Linked DNA regions of Homo sapiens: region 2 is linked to region 1. The links are contacts of gene promoters, found by promoter capture Hi-C in blood cells and fetal thymus (Javierre and others, 2016). All regions are on one chromosome and are shown on one strand. Each heading gives the region's core, a stretch centred on a gene start or on the middle of the fragment in contact. The rest is flanking DNA. Distances are from core to core; before and after follow the strand shown.

What was found. Contacts are between HindIII fragments. The CHiCAGO score rates a contact against its expected background, and 5 or more counts as called.
Region 2: a contact is called between a fragment that was not itself captured here and the fragment with the promoter of HOXA10-HOXA9 in region 1, in 3 of 17 cell types (activated CD4 T cells, total CD8 T cells and total CD4 T cells). The highest score is 6.0, in activated CD4 T cells.

The regions. Positions count from the first base shown.
Region 1 is chr7:27,177,171-27,184,821 of GRCh38, reverse strand. HOXA10-HOXA9 (HOXA10-HOXA9 readthrough) reads left to right here and starts at 4,583. Exons shown (of 3, transcript NM_001433944.1): 1 at 4,583-5,176. The coding sequence starts at 5,167. HOXA11 (homeobox A11) reads left to right here. Exons shown (of 2, transcript NM_005523.6): 1 at 1-386; 2 at 1,794-3,665. The coding sequence ends at 2,026. It also overlaps a transcript of HOXA10 not described here. RefSeq lists enhancers at 227-1,108, 1,109-1,991, 4,479-5,080, 5,081-5,683. The HindIII fragment of the contact is 5,233 bases long and covers 3,040-7,651 here.
Region 2 is chr7:26,690,232-26,697,882 of GRCh38, reverse strand. SKAP2 (src kinase associated phosphoprotein 2) reads left to right here. Exons shown (of 13, transcript NM_003930.5): 10 at 7,521-7,598. Among named protein-coding and RNA genes, the nearest start is that of LINC02860, 56 kb to the right of the region's middle. The HindIII fragment of the contact is 882 bases long and covers 4,130-5,011 here.

The DNA.
Region 1 (7,651 bases), core at 3,334-5,833:
CAAGAGCTCGGCCAACGTCTACCACCACCCCACCCCCGCAGTCTCGTCCAATTTCTATAGCACCGTGGGCAGGAACGGCGTCCTGCCACAGGCTTTCGACCAGTTTTTCGAGACAGCCTACGGCACCCCGGAAAACCTCGCCTCCTCCGACTACCCCGGGGACAAGAGCGCCGAGAAGGGGCCCCCGGCGGCCACGGCGACCTCCGCGGCGGCGGCGGCGGCTGCAACGGGCGCGCCGGCAACTTCAAGTTCGGACAGCGGCGGCGGCGGCGGCTGCCGGGAGACGGCGGCGGCAGCAGAGGAGAAAGAGCGGCGGCGGCGCCCCGAGAGCAGCAGCAGCCCCGAGTCGTCTTCCGGCCACACTGAGGACAAGGCCGGCGGCTCCAGTACGTATAAAGGCAGCGCCCTGCGCTTTATGAAAGGGGAGTTGGAAATCTAGCGCAGCACCGCTGTTAAATTTTTATATGCTGTTTTATAAGCATATAAGGTTTATGAAGGGCCTTTAGGTTTCCCCCAACAAAACTTTGTTATAAAAGGCGGGATCACGTGGCGAGTGCTGAAATTGGCCGTGAAATACCCACCGGCCAAGGCATGCCTGCAAAAAAAAACAACTCCCCTTTTCCCTTTTTTCCCTTCTCAGCTCCCAAGCCCAGCAGCTCGACCCCGCTCGGGGCCAGCTCCAGGCTGGGGAGCCGGAGGTGGGCGCCTGTAAATTCCCCCTGCAAGGGCTTCGGGAGCTTTTGATAGCGAGGTAATCCGGAGATTTTTATAAAAGCCATGTGTTGCGCCGGGACTCCAGTCCCGGCCGGGATTCAAAGGCGTCGCTGTTTAACGACGGCGCTAGGAGCGCGTTTAACAGATAAAGTAGCCCGCTTAGCTCTAGCAATATATTAAAAGAACAAATTAACCCAAAGTTGGCCTTTTTGTCCAAAGGAAGCCATTTTCCTCTGGCGTGGTGGCAATTACGTGCCTCCTTCTGCCCAACTGCATGTTATTCACAATTGTTATTCAATCTGTCAAAAGCGATTTTTTTTTTGTCTTGTGGGTCTTTTTTTTTTTTTTTTTTTTTTTTTTAAAGGGGGAGCAAGTAGAGCCTGCCCGCAGCTTCGGGAAGCCCCCTTTCCCTTCACCCTACCTAAGATAGAGCCGCTGCTCTGCCGTGTGCAGGATGGCCGTGTGGCCGTGGTGCTCAGCGAAGGCCTAGGGTAGGGGGCTTCCGCCGCCACCTCCCCACCTCGGCGGAGCCGGAAGGCTGGCCGGGGAGGCAGAAGCTGGTGGCCAGGACTCAGGCTGACAAAGACCCGGCAGCCGCCCCAGATGTTAAGGACTGCCCAGTCTTGGCCGCAGCCGGGAAAGACTGGGACTGGAGCCGCCTTTACTGCCTTGGGAAGGGGCAGCCCAGGTGCTGGAAGGTGAAATGTCCGCAGGCGGCTGTTTGTTTAGTCTGGCCTGCGAGAGGCAGCCGGCAACCCCCACTTGGCTGCTTTCAAAGAGGCTTAGGCAGCGCAAACTCGCCTGTTGCTGTGCGAAGCTCTCCTTTCTGTTCTGGGGGCAGCGGGAGCAGCTTCCCCGGGGGCCTATTTAGGGAGCTGGCTTTTATCTGTGGCTGAGCCTCCAACTGCGGCCGTTCCAAGCATGCAGTCGGAGCGTTAAAGGCAGGGGCCTGGGCAGACTTTGACGGGGCTTGGGCTGGACCACCAGTCCCCATGGCAGCCCTTCTCCTCAGCTATGGGCTCTGGGGTGGATTGCAGCCCCCACACCTGGCTCACCCCATGCCTTTTCTCCCTCCACAGGTGGCCAACGCACCCGCAAAAAGCGCTGCCCCTATACCAAGTACCAGATCCGAGAGCTGGAACGGGAGTTCTTCTTCAGCGTCTACATTAACAAAGAGAAGCGCCTGCAACTGTCCCGCATGCTCAACCTCACTGATCGTCAAGTCAAAATCTGGTTTCAGAACAGGAGAATGAAGGAAAAAAAAATTAACAGAGACCGTTTACAGTACTACTCAGCAAATCCACTCCTCTAAGACTCCAGCGGCTGGAATTGGGTGGGGGGCTTCATACACATGAGATAATATGCAGATTTTGCCCTTGACAAAGTCAAGCCACATGGTGACTTTTGAAAAGAGGTGTGCAAGAGAGGGATGCATGGAGATAGCCCCACAGGAGGTGGTCTGGGACTCTCTTGATTAAGATCTCAGTGGTTAAGATTCCTAATAATCATTGGATTCTGAGAGCTGTGCATCAGCTAGAATGACAGGTTTGGGACCCCTGGTGGTTCACTCTTGGAGCCTGCAGAGCTGCGGGCTGGGTGTGGTCTCCACTGGGGATTGGGCCCCTGCCAGACCCCCTGGAGACTAACCCCACCACACCCTCCCTCTACTGGGAGCCTACCCACCCCCAGGACCCCTGAGTAAAAAAGCTGTGTGCTCTCCAAGCCCAGTTCAGCTTGGGGACAGGGGCAGGAGGAAGGGGTAGGATTACTAGGTGCCCAGAATGAGGCTGCTTTCCAAAGCCAATGTGAACAGCGGCTGGACTTGGAGGTAGCTTTGAGGTGGAAGAGGGCTGCAAATCCTTGTGGGAAAAGAAATCTATGATTCCAGGTGGCATCAGTGTCTTTCCACTCCTCCTAGCCACCCACCACACTGATCCAGCCCTGAGTTCCTAGCCACCGCCTCCTACAGCCCACCTGGCTTTTCTTTCTACCAAATGAGGGTCTTGGTTCCAGCCTGCCACTCAGGCCCAAAGCCTCGACACAGAGTGGACTGTTCCCTGAGGTGGGAGATGTGGAAAAGCCAAGAGGCTGCAGCCAGGCCACTGGCCCCTGAGATCTCTGCAGGAAATGGCTGTGGAGTGTGGCAGTTTGGCAAACTCTCCACCACACGTAATGAAACTTGGATTTGCTCAGTGTCTGGCTGCAGAGCAGTGGGCCTGGCCAGCAGGTCCCCAGCTTTGGCTATGAGGGCCTTGAGTCCCCCAAAACACCGGGTTCCAGCACCACACTCAGCCCTCATTGGCTCTTGAACTGAGCTTGGAAGCTTCTGGTGACCTTCCAAGAGCCTGAGAGTGAGGTGGAATTATTTTAAAAGATAAATATTATATTATATATATATATATTTCCCTGAAGGAACCAAAGCGAATTTTAAAAGATGCAATGTAGAGGGGAAAAGAGATGATGAAAATATTTAAAGGCCCTATCTGTTTACAGTGTTCCGTGGTTAAACTCGCTCACTGCTAAGAATATTTGAATGTATGCTTCATACAGGGATGGTGTTCAAAAAACTTGTAAATAAAGGAACCATAATCAATTTTCTTTTCTTTCTTTCTCTTTTTCTTTTTTCTTTTGCCATTAGTTGATTTCCTTTAGGGTGTTGGAGGGGGTGGAAAAGGTATTGAGAATGGTCTTTTTAATCTCTTGCAACATTTGGAAAGAGTTAGGGAAATGCTCAGAGGCAGTCGGCCTGGCCGGCCTGGGGATCTCATCTGGGAAAGCCAGGCACCCTCCCATTGAATCTCCTTTGCCTCCCTGTGTTAAGAAATGTCTGTTGGCTCCATTTGTACTGGGAGTGTTGGCCTGTCCTCAATTCTGGTTCTTACCCACCGTGTGTGTTGCAGCACTTATACAGGCAACTGGGCACAAGGAAAATAAAGACGGTGGAAATTTGAGTATCCTGGTGTGACATTCCTCTCCCTGATCGCCTTTTACTACCAAATGTCTGCCCCCCTCCCCCCACCCCCCCAAAAAATGCCTTACCTAGTTGAGGAGCAAGTTATCAGGCCCCTGAGGGGGTGAGAAGGTGACTGAGTCAGGAATTGGCTACAACAGAAGCCAGGCTTAGGAAACCAAGGTGGTTGGCTACGTCCTTGTGGGAAGTGGGGACCTGGGTGGTATCTCAGGGCCTGGAATATAGGACTTTATCCCCTCAGACTGATCTCAGCCCTGGAGAGGGCCTTGGGGCCTGAGGTGGCCAACAGGTCAGACCCCAGGCTGCCCTCGCTCACCTCAGGACAGGTAGGCCTGCAGTGGGACCGTCCGGGGGCCCGTGGAGGCTTCAACAAGAGGGAGCCTGGTCTGGGTTCCAAGGCAGAGCAGACTCCCAGGAGCCTCTAAGGGTGCTTTCTCCCCAGCTCCCAGCTGAGGCTGCTTTTTCCCTTTGGGGGAAAAAAAAAGGATGCCGATTTCCTCTTTGTTTGCTGCCTTTGAACTTCTGCCTTAAAATTGGACATCACCCATAACCTTGAGGAGAAGGGCTGAAAGGACAGAGCCCTTTGTTGCCCACCCCACCCTCTCTTCAGCCACCCAGGCAGGGCCAGAGCAGCAGATAGGGTCGCATTTGGAGAGAGGCCCCAGACCCCACTCTGTTTATTTGTTTGTGTGTTTGTCTAACTGGCGCGACTGGGGAAATCGAGCTGAAAGGGTAGTGGGACAGATCTAGAGATGAATGTCTAGGTTGATAGGCAGACACGCAGACATGAACAAGGGCCCTCCTGGGGGGCAGGGAGGGGGCGGGCTGGGAAGCCTGGGTTTAGGGAAAGACTTCCTTTGGGATGGTTAAAGATTAACCAAAGTCTCTCAAGTTGCTAGAGAGAGTCTAGCCAGGAGGACTGCTCGCGGGCGGGCGGCGGGCGGGCGCGGGTTTGATTTCTGAGCCCTATAAAAGCCCATCCTCCGATGGCTGTGACAATGTGGTCGTAAACCCGTCCGGGGCCGGCCAATTTGCATATTTGGAATGCGCCGCTATAAACCCGGCTGGGGTTTTGCAGCGATTTCTTAGATGTAAAAATGAGATCTCAATAGCAGCGGGCTGGGCACATCCTCTCCTCTCTCCTTCTCTCTCTGCCCGGAGCTGGTTTCCGTCTCTCGGCTCGGGGCTGGAACTCCGGCCCAACCTAGGCGCGCAGCCGCCACGAGATGGCGCACTTCCGATCAATGTCAAAGCCGCCGGGGAGCCGGGAACCCCAGCATGATTCTTGGCCTTTGTTCGCTTCTGATACTAAGAGCAGCACGGTACATTATTTCACTTGTCCCGCTCCCCTTCATAACAGAAAAAGGGGACTCACCCTCAAGAAGTGATTGGTATGGTAATTTAAAGCAACGCGCATTCGCTAGGCCTCGCGAGCGTCGCCGCGCGGAGAAGCCAGCTGTCCCTTGGCAGTGATTTCGGAAATGTGTCAAGGTAAGAGGCCACAAGTTTAGCAATTTCAGTCTGGTGGGGCGGGAGTGGGGAGGTGGCCGATGTCTAAGCAGGGCTCTCGGGAACGTGGCTGGGTTTGTGGGGTGACGCGGTAGGGAGCCCCCACCCCATTGCTCCCTAAGGTTGGAAAGCAGGGGGAGGCCTAAGTAGAAAAGTTGAGGATTTTAGCTCCTTGCGCCAGCATTTCACTCAAGGCGAATCTTTCGATTTTGTAGAAATACACAGAATAGAATGGGCTAGGGATGAGAGGCATCTAGGCGAAAGTGTTCCAGCTGTGCTGCGATAGGGGGTTGTGGGAGGGCAAAAAAAAAAAAAAAGGTGATCGCGGGTTGAGGAAAACAAAGTTTCCATTCTAAACAATGGGGTGGTAGAAGTCTGCGGCCGCTAAGGCGAGCTTATTCCCAGGGGCAGAAGTCCTGGAGGTCACTGGTTTCCTACTAGGTGCATCTCTATGTCTGCCCGGCAGCTTGGAGAAAACCTTTGTTCCGAAAAAGGCCAATTCGGAGAAGTCGCATGTGATTTTTGAGAGTGCCAGACAAGTCTCTGTGTTGCATACTTGGAGTACGCTGTTATAAACCCAGCTGCAATTTCGCAGCAATTTCTTACATATGAAAATTAGATCTTTTGTAGAAGATATTTTGCAAATATGCAAAAATGTATTGGTAAATACTAATACTTTTTTAAAAAGCTGGAACCGAGGATAAATTTTGACGGAGCAATCACTCCATTGGGGTTGTCATCAAACACATTTTAAATGAAAAAATTCCATTACATTTTGAAGGATCGATTCAAATTCCCTCTTTCTCCTATATTTAATTTTTTCTACTATTTTTCCATTAGTTTCCCACATCTTTTTCTTTTCCCAAATATACAGTGCGTGGTGAGTGGGGTGAATCCCAGAGAAAGTAGGCACTGCCTGTTTGTTGCGTAAATTTTGCCTATCATAGTTACTAGTCTTTGTTGAAGGCTGGCTCCCAAACTATGACGGAGCAAAGCAACAAGGCAAGAAATGAGCGCCCACCCAGTGAGCTGCTCTCTGCAGCGGGAGCCCTCCCTACAATGCCAGAGCCGCCTCCAGTTCTAAGGCCAGAGGCTGTTTATTATGAACAAATCTAAGAATATTGCAATTCAAAGGGTGTGTGAAAAGGCCCCAACACTTCCCTAACAGGGGAAGGGCCATCTTAATGGTTGGATTTAGAAAACTTTAAAAGTATGTTGTTTAGTAATAGATTGCACCTGATAGATTCAAAACAGACACATCAAATATCCCTGAAAATGTTGACATTCTTAAAGATGAATGGGAAAAGAACATCATTGCTTGTGGAAAAATTTTCTAACTATGCATAAATGCATGGATATGAGAAGCTCTGATTTTTTTTTCTTTTTTTGCTAAAGCCAGATATGTAAAAGCAGCCTTTATTTTTCCTCTGTGGGACTGCAGCCCAACTCCACCGCTGGATAATTCAGAGTCTTGAAAGCATTGAGAGTGCCCTCCAGATATAAATTGTTTACTAGCAGTTTCGATCTCAGGACCTGGTATCTTTTCATTAGGAACTTGTTTTTCATAATAGTTTATTTCTCACTGCTTACAAGGGCCTACTCAGAAGGAGTACCTAGTGAACTGCAGCCTAATCCTTGCCGAAGGCCTTAATCCATGGGCCTGGTGTTTACTTTGGCCCCATAGGGCTGGCAGGTTATTACCCGGGTAGAAATGGGCAATATTTCCTCCTAAATAAAACATGGGCTCTGGAGGTGACTGTGTAACCGCTGCATAAGGCCTGGTTGAGGCAAGCAGGCACTGAAGATTTAGGTCAAAGTTACCCTGAGGGAGAGGGAGAAATTTAGTAGCTGGGAAGAATGGCAAAAAAGAAAGAAGGCAAATGAGCACGAGGGAGGAAAAGTGCTTGGAAGCCGACCCACACTACAACTGAATCGCTTTCTTCATCTCTTGGGGTGGGGAATCTCAGGAAAGCCGAGGCGCTCAATAAATGGAATATTTTATTGAGAAACCTAACACTCCAGTGTTAAAGTCTAGAGAGCATGGGAGCCTTGGGGGTCGGTCAGGGATGCTGGGGGCTAGGAGACCAACTGAGAGGGCCAAGGAGGCGTTTAACTTGAGCTTCTGCTGCGTTAGTATCCTCTCATTTGAACCAGCAGCAGCCGGCCCGCCTGCAGCCGGCCAGCTCACCGGCAGTGTCTCGCTGCGTTTCCCACTCAGCAAGCCCTGGTGGGAGTTGGAAGGCAGTCCTGGGCCAGAGAGGGGCTGCCATACATGAGCTTACACACTCTTTTTAAAAGCCAGAAGGAGCTCAAGCCCAACATCCCGTTTGGTTTATTACAAGGGGGAAAAAGTCATACTAAAGAAACACATCTGGCTCACCACAGAAAGGTCACTGAAGACCCAAGTGCCAACGCCACGGCTTGCGAGGCCCATAGCAGGCCTCCCAGCTCCTCTAC
Region 2 (7,651 bases), core at 3,321-5,820, 490 kb after region 1:
TATGGGGACAATGAATACATATGCATTTGGGGTATTTTATTTAAAATAAGAATTAAGAAAAACCAGTAGCTGAATAAAGGTAGCCTAGAAGAAGGTGTTAATAGTGGTTATGCTTGGATCATGGATGATTTATTTATTTATTTTGCTTATCTCTATTTTCTGACTTTCAGCAATGAGTAGATACTGCTTTTGTAACAAGAATAATAAGAAAAAGGTTACTTTAAATGAAAAAAAAAATGAGCTGTAATTGTATCAGAAATCCAGAGCCAGATAGAGGTTACTGTAAGTGAAAAATAAATGAATTCAGACTTTCCTGGACTAAAAGAATTTTAGAATTACACAATTTGTTATAAACTTTAATAAAAAGCCAAGAATTTGGGTTGTAAAGGAGAATTTTTATCATACAGTGAATAATTCAATGGGACAAGAAGGAGCTCCATTTCATAACTTCCTAATACCTAGTACTCTTTAGGAGTAGGATCATTTTCTAATTCACAGTCGCTTCTGACCAACCGAATCTGACCTATGAAAACTTTGTTTTTAACCTATATACATTCCCTTTTGCCATAATTGCCTAATTGCCTGTAGGTGATCGAGTGTATACAAGACTGCTCCTGAAACAAAGGAGTGCTTCTCGAGCAGCAGATAACTTTTCAGAAATGTCTGCGGTGCACAGAAGGCAGTTTCAGGGAGAAGGGTACAGTGTGCAAGCTGTGTGCCCTCGGTCCAGTCATTCAGCACCCACAGTTTACCTCATCTTCTGTGAAATGAGGAAACTGAACAAGATTCTATCTAAGGTTTCTTTCCCTTCTAAGATTTTTTTTCCTGACTCTATCAAATGAGATCTTTGCTTGAGTTCAAGTTTTTTCCTCAACATCCCAATCATGATATTAACAAATATGTCTATGTGAAAAATTATTTTCACATTTTCTGATTTGTGTGTGTATGGGTATTTTTTTGTTTTTGTTTTTGTTAGAGACAGCGTCTTGCTCTGTCACCCAGGCCAGGATGCAGTGGCATGATCTTTGCTCACTATAAACTCAAACTGTTAAGCGATCCTCCTGCCTTGGCCTCCCAAAGCAGATTTGTGTTTAAATTATTAATTTTAATGTCATAGTACAGAAATTTACTACAATCCAATGGTATTTCCTTTTGCTTTTGAAGGGTAGTGATAACCTTTTCATATTAAACCTTAGAATAATAGAATGTCAAAGGTGAAAATTAGATTTTGTGGTTGAACAACTATTGCTTATTTTCTTGCCTTTATATCACATTAACCTTTCTGGTTGCTTAATTAATAAATTGTTGCAAAACTCCCAGTTCCTAAGGTAATAAACTTGATACAGCATACTAATTTTTCATTTTTTCCCCTGAGAAATCTGGTTATCTCATTGTCTTCCCCAAATCCTTCTTCAAAGTGCTATGGGATAGACTTACTCTTCCTACTTTGAAATACAGAGATGACACTAAGAATTAGAAGCAGTGTCCAGTTTATGTGAGTAACAGAGCTGTAACAATAGGCCCCACTTTGCCAAATTTCCATAAGAGTAAACATGACTCTAACTATGCTATTTCAGTCATCTTTATCCTTCCATTCATTCTGAAGTTTGTATAATGCTAAAAGGCACATGCTTATATCTTTTTAAAAATATGTATTTTATTGCTGTAAAATAATAGTCTATTGAATAGACAGAACAGTCCTTTAGAAGTATAATAAAATATAGTAATATAAAAATCCTTCATATTACCAGTAGTTCTAGATTTATAGGCCCCTGGGGAGCTCACTTTCCCTTGCTGTCATAATTGTGAATCTTTTGCCCATACCCCTTAGATTCGACTCTAACTTTTCCAACCCTTCTTCCAGCCTTTGTGACTTGCCACAGGTCATGGGAGAGAAGAGCGGGTGGGGTTCCATTTGTATGTATCCTCCCAGTACTTCTATCTTTTACATTTTACCACTAGGACTAGCCGGTGGTGTCCTCTGTTCCCCCATGTCACCTCTTCCATCTCCCACTCGGGCATCTTGTGTGCAATGCCCAAATAGTGTGTAACTTTAGGAACAGAGGAGTGTGTTAAAAGCTAGAGGTGAGGAAGGGGAACTGGGAGAGGAGAAAGAAGACCATATATTTTGGGCAGCCCTGGTTGCAATTGTTTCTAAATCAGCACTAAAAAGTTTGCTTAAGATGTTCTTCAGATACGATGCTATGATAGTGTAGAACCTACTATTCTATGTGAAAATGTTTTCAAAGTCCACAAACAGACAGTATTTTAAGTAAAATTTTAGAAAGCAATCCACCTGTAAATTGAAGATTTTAATGAAAATAAAGGAGGAGACACTGTGGCTTAGAGTTAAGGCATATGCCTAAAGTTAAAATCCCAGCTTATGTACTAACTGGATGTATGAACCTTGACAAGTTATTCAAGCTCCATAAATTCATTTTTCATATTCATAAAATGGTGATGATAAAAGTACTTATAATTACCTCATAGAATTGTTGGAGGATTTAGTTACATAATGGATATAAATGCATATAATGTGAACATTTAAGCAATAAATATTCACATTTCCTGAGAAAAATATATAATATTAAATAATGCCTGGACAGGTGGAGATCTAAATCCAAACTTTATTTCAGAGCTTAACTTTTGATTCTGTGTTTTATGTTTTAAAGTACATTATAATTTAGTAAAGCTGTTTTCTGAGGGTATTTAGTGAGAAAGGTGATCATTATGTAAGTGAAAGATTTTTTATATCATCTTCCTCTTCTCCCTGGAAGAGATGATAAAATCAGTCCTCGGCCTTGATGTGAACATCGCATACCTTGAGTTGGTGTTAACAAATTTTCTTCAACCTTTTTTCAAGCAGTGTCAGCTAAATGGTGCCATTTGCTTATCACTCTTCTTTTTGGTTATTTATCCTAAAGATAAGAACATTAGTAAGCCGTAAATGCCCATTTTGTAAAAACTGCATAGCTAGACAGATTTGCAATCCCTATTAGGGTAATAATCCATCTGTTATGGAACTGGATCAATTTTGTAAATTAAATAGATTAAAAAGGGGGAAAAAGGGCCATGACTTTTCCCACAGTAAGCCTTTTCTCAAATGCTAAAAAGATTTGGGAAGACTCAAACTATTTGCCATTCTTCCTCTCTTTGCTTAACTCAGAGAGAAGGCCAAATATCTATTAAAAAGAGGGGTGGGTGCAGTTGTTTTTTTTTTTAATTCTTCAGGGTCTGATTGCTCCTGGAAGTTTCATATTTTTGACAGAGTTTATTGTTAAAACCTTTTGATGACTACCAGAACATTTCTGCTGTTCTCACTGATCAGTTTAGTAAATGTGTGACTATGTTTGAATTTTCTTCTGCACTTAGCTCACTTTACTGTTACTTTCATCCTGTCTGTTCAAAAAAAAAAAAAAAAATCTCCTGATGATTCTTCTAACAATGTGTGATTGGAATAATAACTTCACATGTTGAAGAGTTTTGTGCTGCAGCTGAGAGGCATGTAAATACAAGCTGCTTATTTGCAAGAAGCTTCCAGGTTTGCAATATGATTGCTATGGAAACCACATAATGAAAACCTTATAACCATCTGTGTGGTTTGATGGATTTTACTGCATAGCTGAGCTGTTTTTGTTTACTGTTATTAAAATGTTGAATGGAATATATTAACTCACAAACATTGACTACTTGAGGTATTAATTAGTATTGTACAATGACATTGTGCCTCAACACCAAAATAATACATATTTAATAATAAACCTAAATAAAAAAATATGTGAATGTATATATTTCTAATATATTGTGAAGGTGATTATTGCCTAGAATTTTGGTCACTTGTTCTTACATATTTTTAAGAGCTTTATTCTATTAATAAATGAATATGTTAAGATTTATTTGTATGATTTTTTTAATCCATTTGTTTATTCTGTATTTATCGAACATCTCCTTTGTGCCAAGTTCTATTCAAGGTTCAGTCTGAGGTTTTTTTCCCTGCCTAAGATTCAAAAACATACACCATATTTGATTTTGTTATCTTTTATATGGAAGCTATTTGTATTGTTAGCCAAGATAAAATGAGTTGTTTAAATATTGTTAAGAAAAATTGATATATTAAATGCATAAAGCTTTGGTTTAAAAATATCGCTACCAGGTTTAAAATGGAAAAAGGAAGTGTCCTTAATGAGCATCTCATCCTCTAAAATCTGCTTATTAAATGGCATCTTACATGGATTTCAATTTGGATATTTTATAGTAAACATTAATTCTTAAGTAAATACTTTTAATATCATTATTCTGATAATTTAAGAGTGCATATTTCTAAGAACAAAGCTCTCTGACACCAATATACAATCCAGAGCACATGTTACTGGCACTTAAGTTTTAATAAAATAAAAAATTCATAGTAACAAATACTTCTAAATTCATTGTTAACTTTGTCAAAGAGCAGAGTTTTTTCATTAAGTCTTGTAATGAATTTTTATATGTTCATGCTGATTTGGGTGGTGAAATCTAAATCCCACAGTCTCTTTTTTTTTTTTTTTTTTTTTGAGATGGAGCTTCACTCTTGTCGCCCAGACTGGAGTGCAGTGGCGCGATCTCAGCTCATTGCAACCTCCGCCTCCCAGGTTCAAGCGATTCTCCTTCCTCAGTCTCCTGAGTAGCTGAGATTACAAGCGCCTGCCACCATGCCATGCTAATTTTTGTATTTTTAGTAGAGACGTGGTTTTGCCATGTTGGCCAGGCTTGTCTCGAACTCCTGATCTCAGGTGATCCACCCGCCTGGGCCTCTCAAAGTGCTGGGATTACAGGCGTGACCGACCATGCCCAGCCCCCACAGTCTCTTCTTAAAAGCCACTAATAATACTTATTGTATTGATGCGGTTATAGCTTTTGACTGAGGACGAGTGCCTTTATCCATTTTTTAATTTATTTCTTACTATTGAATTTGTGACTAAATTAAAAGGGGAGTGGGTGCTATGGAAAGAAAGTGTGAAAAGTAAGGAAAGCTTTCTCCTTCACCTTTTACCAAATTATCTGTCAATAAAATGAGTAGGTTGGAATAATGACTGTAAACGTTCCTTCTACCTTTAAAAATTTATATGGAAACACCCTATTAACCCATTTATTAAAGCTAGCCTTTAAGGTTTGGCATAAGTGAGATAACTATTGTTAAAAAGAAAAGAGACAGGATACTTTTTAAAAGAGTGGTATACTTTTATTAGGTCTTCTATATATTTGACTGAACCATATTAAATTGTCAGTGTTATGTTTAACAATATGAATAAAATGCCAGATATTTTCAGGTGTCCCTTATATTGGAGTTGTCATTATTTTGTTTGAATTGAGTTACAGAAATTCAGAACAGTTCTATTTGTCGTGTAAGTACAGCTACCCTCTCAAGCTTGGTTGAAATGCTGATTTTGATTCATCCCCATTTAACATTTTCAGGAGACTCCTAAATTTCCACCTGTAGTCCTGACTGCTCTACCATACTTTGCAGTTGCCCAGACATGTTCTCTGGGTTGCCTCACCAATACATTAAATTCCTCCTGTTGAAAACACAACTCTTTGTGTTCCCCAGTAAGATAGATTATTTTGGCTATCCTCCTTTTAGTAATAATATGTCCATTTCTCAGTTAACTAAGCTCAAAACCTTAGCCATCCTTTGTTGCTCTTTTCCCCCCCCTCATTCCTCCACATTCAGGCACAAAGCTTATCCATTCTAGTTCCTTTACCTCTTATAACCATCTCCTTTCCATTTCCTTTGCCCCTTCAGTTCAGGACTTCCTTCCCCTTTATCCACAGTAGTCTCTCTCCCGCCCCTTTTTTAGGCTGTCTGAGACAATGGGATCAGATGTCCATTCCTGAAGCATAGCTTCAGTCCTGCCCTTTCTCTGCTCAAAAAACCTTCGAAGGCTCTTATTGCCCACCAAATAAAAGCCTGCAGTCCATAACAAGATGTTCATGGCCCCTCAACAGCTGGTCCAAACTATGAGCGTAACTCCTACCCAGCTCTTCCCCTATGTGTACCAGATTCTTTAGTCAAAATGAATATGAACATGCCTTTTTCTTTTAAAGATCATACCTATCCCTCCGGAAATATCCTTCTTATCCTCTCTCCTTATTTAAACTCTCTCCATCCCTTGGAGCCTCCGTGGTACTCCCTAGTTGGGGGGTTTCTCTGCTGCACTTCTTCAGTGCTTTGTGCATCACTTGTCAGGTTTAGGCCCCTTCAGCCTGTTTTCCTTTAGAGCTTGTCTTCTGTCCCATCTGTGCTGTCAGCTTCCTGTGAGCAGAGGCTTCCTGTTACTTTTACCTCCTTGGTAGATCTCTTCTGTCTCACAGTTAGTTAATATCCAATGAAGATTGATTGACTGATTGATTGAATAGTTACAATGACTACATTTATATATTTTGCATATTTTTCTTTAAAGTTTTAGGAGTTTTCTTGAAATTATGATTCTCTTTGAATCCAGTTTTTCTTTGGCATGCCATTTGTTTATATGTCCTGCCTTAAGTATTTCTAGGTTTGTATGCAAATCCTTAGGTGAGGAAAAATCATGTAATAAATATTTTTCTTGGTGTAAATGAATTAGTTTATTAAGTCTATTTAAAGCTCTTCTCATTTAATTTTATCTTATTTCTTTGCATAATTTGGGGAAGGAATGGTATAGGTGAGTGTGGAACAAATGTAAATGGAGCACTGATTATATGTAGGATAAAGAACATTGACTTTATAATCACAAACTTAAGTTCGAATGACACACTTTGGAAGTTACTTCACCTTTTTGAGTCTCTAAAGATAAACTTGTCTGTAGAATGAGGATTAAAAATTATTTGTCTATGAGATTTTAACATCCAGCATTGTATATGACACATAATAGGTCCTTGGTATAATTTTGGGGGAATTACCTCAAAGGATGAAGATCATTATAGTATCTTCCTGTGAAGATTGAGAAAACGTATGAAATTATGTGATACTCAAAAAAATGATTTATAGGTTAACTGCATTTTTAATCACACATTTCTCCTTGCTATATGATGTTTTAGGGACCATGATTTTATATATGATACTCCTGCCACACAGTACAATGTGGTGTATCAGTATAACGCTGGGTGTTACTTTACTGGATTTAAGGGTTTTCCTGAAATTAAGATTGTTCCAGATGAGTTTCTAAAAGTATTTAAAACAAAACATGCAGTGCATTAGTACATATCTTAAATTTTGCCAAGCCAGTTGGAAAGGTTGCTATTTGGAAGTAGCTAGTATTTTATTGGAAAGTTGGAAAGTTTGCTATGTGGAAAGTTGGAAAGGTTGCTATTTGGCAGTAGCTAGTATTTTATTTATTCAGTGTTAGATTGTCGAAAAAGGACTGTGAATCTTGAGTTATTTTATTCTTTGAAAAATAATGTTTATGTGTTATAAACTTTTAGTTTTGCTTTTAAAATTGAGTGAGTACTGTAGTGTTATCCCTGAGAAAACCCTTCAATGTGCCATTGATAATGTTTATTTACAGAAGAAGAAGAGGACAGTGCTCCAGTGAAAGTGGAAGAACAAAGGAAGATGAGTCAGGATAGTGTCCATCACACCTCAGGTAATGACTTGTGTAGCTTCTTGGCAAACCTTATTTTGCTTTTGTTCACTTTC